2 separate regions of the Homo sapiens genome follow, and region 1 is linked to region 2. The links are contacts of gene promoters, found by promoter capture Hi-C in human tissues and cell types (Jung and others, 2019). All regions are on one chromosome and are shown on one strand. Each heading gives the region's core, a stretch centred on a gene start or on the middle of the fragment in contact. The rest is flanking DNA. Distances are from core to core; before and after follow the strand shown.

Region 1 (2,700 bases), core at 31-2,530, 44 kb before region 2:
CCATTTTATGACAGACACATTAAAAAGCTCAGTTCCTTTTAAGATTAAATTAAAAAATGCCCATAAAATTAGCTTTCTGTGTGTGCTATAATTTAAAATACATAACAATTTAAATGTTTTCTAAATAGATGGGGGGATCTAACATCCAAATCTATCTTCTTATATCAATTCATATTTGGTTAACATACTGTACCAATTCCTTTCATTAAAATAAACTTATTACTTTGAAATTAACATATACAGTTTTTACTCAGTTTTTTTCTAGATGCTAGTTTGAAACACTAAAATAAAGATCTATACTGAAAAACTTAACAGACCTTTAATGCATTCACATTCTTTTCGGTGTTACATTTTTGAGCTAACATCTCTAATAACTAAGGCCGTTACCATTGTTAAGAAAAAGAGAACAAGGAACTCAAATGTAGTAATAAAATCATGCTGGGAAAAGCATTATTTAAATCCCACATTTATTTTTCAGATAAATTTCGAGTTTTTATGAGAGAAAAAGAAGTACAACTTGGCTAACAATTAGAGAAGATTATTTAGTAAAAGGACAAAGTGACTTTGAGTTGTTGGAACTATTTACACAGAAGTAACCCAAAAGTTTGTAAACTGATCTTTAACTGGCTTGATTAAAAGAGGGTAATTAATAAATGACAAGACAGAATGAAAAGTTCGTGTGGCATTTGATAAACCACCCAAGAAGTTAAATCAATGCTTTTCTTTCTGTTTAACTTCACTATTTGTTTTTCCATTTGAGCTGCCAACTTTCTAACATGCTACAGAAGGAAGAAGAGACTTTCCTTTTTTTTTTTTTGATTGATAAACATCACAGATTTTTGTTTCAAATCAACTGAACTTTTTCAAGATGATCCTTGCATTTGCTGTCACACTTGTGGTAAAGCCATTATTCCATCAAAACTCTTTAAATAGCCACCACCCCACTTTTTTCAGCTACTTTGACAAGAACACCATAACAGTTCACATCACCCTTGACCTTCAGGGTGTATATCATCTTGTCAACATATAAACAAACACACTATTGGTTGTATTTTAATAGATTTTGTAAATATCAGGATCCAATTTATCAAAAGGTTCATGCTAAGTGACAGCTCTGAAGTTCTGGATTGTATTTGCAATGCTAATTCTGACTTTTAATAAAAAAGGATATTTAGGTTGTGTTTTGCTCTTTTGTCTTTTTTTTCAGGAATGTGTAATAAGCTACTAGAAGTTTTCTTCCTTCCTATGATGGAAGCTTTCACTAACTCAATTCCAAAAGGAAAAGATTACTAGTACTATCAAAGGTAGTTATTTCTTTCAGTTGTAGGAAAAACATACGTGTTTGCATAGGAAGGATTTATATAAGATTCCTGCTTCTATCCCCTTTGCTTGGCAAAATGCATTACCTATAATAGTAAGAATACTTTCTTTTAAATGGAAAAGGAGATTATGACAGAGATAACTAACAGTATGTCTGCAATCAAGTAATTATTTCCTTTTTACTTTCATATTCACAGGCCTCTCACACTGTATGTCACTGACTTTATATCTTCTTTCCAAAACAAAATGTGTTATCAATATCAAGGTGCCCTCTCTCCTGACATAGCCTTTACTAGGGAGATAACTATTAGAATACTGTACATTTTGCAAGCTAGGAGAATTAAATGGACAAAATATACTTTTTGTCAGAGAATAGTCTTCATGATAATATTTGTTAAAGATAACATGTAAGAGTTAATCAAATTTCAACAACTGTAAAGATATAATTTCTACATCCTGGCAAAATAGGAAAAAACATCAAAAAGCTAATATATCTGGGACATAATTTTTTAAATAATTAAAACAATAATTTTTAATTTAAATGAACTAAAAACTTCCAAAACAATGATGTTAATAAAAAAGGAAGGTGCTTCTAAGCGATATTGACCTGCATATACACATATGTGTGCACAACTACAATTCTATGATGTTAGAAATCATACTTGGAAATTATCTTGTGTAGGCACACTTTTTTGAGTCTGGGCCAACCACTCAGCAGAAAACACAGATGCATTTAGCAACATTCAAGACTTCCTGAAATGTCAACACACTTGGAGAGTGCTTCACCAGAGATATGGGGATGATATACCTGCTCTTGTGAAAAACTAAACAAGGAAACCCATTAGAAAGCGCTTATAGAAAATCCAAGATTTCAAAACTTCTCTTTGATAAGTTAGAAAGAGGAAACACACACACACACACAACCACCCACATAACTTGCTGTTACTTCAACAGAGGAATTTGTTTATCCTACTTATGTGAAAATTGATAACTTTAATTTAATTACAACTAGGAATAATTCTAATTTTGAAAGGCCTAAGATGTTTCTCTACATTTATACACCCCACGTGGTAATGCATGGGATTCTTAGCACTGAAAATACTACAATATAGAAGTTTGGCTCAAGTAATAGACAAAGGAAGTTTGGAACTCTCTACATAAAAATTTTTAAGTATGACATAAAGTAGGATAGCTGTTATGAAAAGGGCACATACGTCAGAAGGGGATATGTCTAGGTTGGAAATAATAATGATAGTTAATATGCACAAGCTGCCTGCTCTGTGCCAGGCACTGTTCTAAGTGCTTTATATGTTAACTGACGTCATTCTCAAACTGCTTTATGGAACAGATACTATTACTATTTCCATTTTGTCTTTGAGG
Region 2 (2,700 bases), core at 79-2,578:
ATCTCCATGCGCTGCTGGCCATACAGGTAATAGTCCAGCTCCTCTGCGCTGCAGCGGAAGCGCGGGGCGCCGCGACCCTCCCCGCCGCCGCCGCCACCACCACCGCACTTGACGGGCCCGGGGCCGGAGGTGGCGCCGAGGCACAGTTCCTTGGGGGGCAGCGGCTCGGCGGCGACGGCAGCGGCGGCTAGAGGCGCGAACACCGGCAGCTGCGACACCGGCAGGGCCGAGAGACCAGCCAGCGCGGCGGCAGCGGCCGCAGCAGCGCAGGAGGAGGCGGAGGAGGCGGAGGTGGAAGAGGAAGCCGGCGTGGACGAGGCGGAGGAGAGAGAGGCGGGCCGCGGGCGCAGGCTGTCCGGCGGAGGCTCAGCGCGCTCCGGGGGCGGGGGCGGCGGCGGCGGCTGAAGAGGCTGCGGCGCGCTCAGGAGACCCGCGGCGCCGCTGCCCTTGAGCGGGCCTGCGCCTCCGTGAGGGAAGAGTTGCTGCCAGTGCTGCAGGTAGGCTGGGTCCACTTTGAGGAAGGCCGAACCGCCGGGGTCTCCGGGCTTCAGCATGTCCGGCGCCTCGAACTGGGGGCAGAGGGCAGGGAAGAGGGGGCGCGTGAGCTGGGCGAAAGGGGCCGGGAAGAGGGCCACTGGGACCCTGGAGAAAGTGCCCGAGCCGGTGGTTCAGCCGGCGGCCGCCCGGTTCCGCGGCTCCCTCTTCCCAACTCCGCTTGGGCGCAAAGTTTACTCCGAAGCTGCGGCGCCGCACAGAGGGAGCTGTGTGCACCCTGCTCTGCCTCCCCGATCGCAGCGTCCAGCTCCCATCCAGCAATGCTGGGGCCCGACAGGAGGGCGCTGCCCCGTAGAACTCGGCTGCAGGACGCAGCCCCCGCCCTCAGCCAGCGCCCGGAGCCGACCCGAGCCGGCGTGGCGCAGCGCCCGAGCCGCGTTGGCCTCAGGCGCCAGGAGGCAGAACAGTCTCGCCGCCCGCCCCCAACCTAGGACCACCAACCTTCCTATCTACCAAGCCCTAGACTCTTAAGTCCCAGACCAGCCTCACCTTACCTGAAAACTCGGTGCTGCCGGTGGGTGCGTGCGGGTGTCTCGGTGAGCGTGCGGGTGCGCGAGAGTGTGCGCCCTGCGTGCGCTACATGCCCCTGAGCAGCGCGGGAGGAGAGTCCTAGAGATTGTGCCGCCCGGAAACCTCCCGACCTGCAAGCGAGAAAATTGGGAGGCCCGCGGAGGGCGCGAGAGTGCGGACGGACCTGGGCGCCCGACTCAACCGCCGTGGGCTGCTGCGCTTGGCCGCTGCCGCGTCCTGGCTCCTTGGTTCCACGCTCTGGCAGCTTCCCGGCTGGACACGTGGGTTTTACGACAGCACAAAATAGAGTGAGTGTGTGTGTGTGTGTGTGTGTGTGTGTGTGTGTGTGTGTGTGTGTGTGTGTGTGTGTGTGTGTGAGAGAGAGAGAGAGAGAGAGAGAGAGAGAGAGAGAGAGAGAGAGAGAGAACGGAGGGGGGAGGGGAGGCAGGCCAGAAGAAGGGGAGGGGAGAGGGAAGAAGGAAGTTCTAATTCGGCCCGACCCACATCGCCAGAGCGCCTTTCCCGCACAAACTCCTCCGCCCTCCCATCCCCTGTTTTTTTGGCGTGACGTCTGCCGCTAGCCTGTTGTCTCTTTCTGCCCATGATATGTCTTTTCTGGGTCCCAGCTCAGTGCCCTGATCTTGAAAGCAGTGGAAATGCGGCAACGGGAATGCATCTCCGCACACGCTGTGGTGTCCGCGCTGGAGCAAGCCCGCGCCGCCAGGACCGGGTTTGCGCTTTTGCCCGGCTCAGTTTTTCCTGAAGTGCTTCTGGGTGCCAGAGTCCACTCGCCCGCCACGCAACCTCTAACATAAATCCTCCGGGGAGAAAAGTTGGGGGCGGAGCGGGACGGGTTGCGCGCTGCAGTGAAACCCTCTGTCTGCAGCCCAGGAGGGAGGCTTGTCGGTGCAGGGAGGCGTAGGACCGAGGGTCCTGAGACCGAGAGCAGCTGGTCCTGGAGGGACTCAAGCTTGGCCGTGGGGCTGGGAGGCGGCTGCAATGGAGTCTGCACTCCACCCAGCGCTCTGCTGACCCCTTCTCGGGTTGTCTTCTGGAGGGCTCTTTCCCTCTCCTTCTTGGGGCCCGGAGACAAGTATCCAGTGTTACGTCTGGTGGCACAACTGCTCCGGGACACGGGCGAGGCTGTTTGCGGTCAGCTGCCTGCGGCTGCCGCAGGAGGTCACGCATAGGTTTCTCTACCCAAAACCTGGTGTTAGAGGGGCAGGGTGGGAGTGCAGCCCCACCTCCACCATGTCCTCTCCCCAGACTTTGTGCCAGGGCAGCCCTTCGATGCAGTCTCGCACCCACGAAGGAGGCACTTGCCCCCCAGCTCTTCCTGGCATTTTCGGTAGTAGATGGTAGAGGGCACAGGCAGGGTGTGTGAAATTGACCGACTCAGGAGGTACTTTCCCATCGCCGGGGTTCTGGCCATACCGTAAAGAGAAGAAACGGCATTTATCTTTTTCCAAACAACCTAACTTATTTAGCACTTGCCAATCTGAGCAATTAATAGCCATTCTTTCCTGATTTCTGCTTGTTTCTTTTTCTCTTCCCACCACTCAAGTTTTCTGAACCTGGGAAACGTGCTGTTCAGACTTCATCCGGGTCTCATTCAGGATGCTTCGATGTTGGTTG

What was found. The method cuts DNA at HindIII sites, captures the fragments that hold promoters and counts their contacts. A contact is called where the count stands out against the background at its distance.
Region 1: a fragment that was not itself captured here is called in contact with the fragment with the promoter of PRDM6 in region 2 in 3 of the 25 tissues and cell types used here (aorta, ovary and pancreas).

What each region holds. Positions count from the first base shown.
Region 1 is chr5:123,131,947-123,134,646 of GRCh38, reverse strand. The region is part of intron 3 of PRDM6 (PR/SET domain 6); the gene reads right to left. Among named protein-coding and RNA genes, the nearest start is that of PRDM6-AS1, 43 kb to the right of the region's middle. The HindIII fragment of the contact is 9,966 bases long and covers 1-2,700 here.
Region 2 is chr5:123,087,869-123,090,568 of GRCh38, reverse strand. PRDM6 (PR/SET domain 6) reads right to left here and starts at 1,328. Exons shown (of 8, transcript NM_001136239.4): 1 at 1,050-1,328; 2 at 1-569. The coding sequence starts at 554. PRDM6-AS1 (PRDM6 antisense RNA 1) reads left to right here and starts at 253. Exons shown (of 2, transcript NR_146771.1): 1 at 253-497; 2 at 2,630-2,700. RefSeq lists enhancers at 1,589-2,133, 2,134-2,678. The HindIII fragment of the contact is 7,641 bases long and covers 1-2,700 here.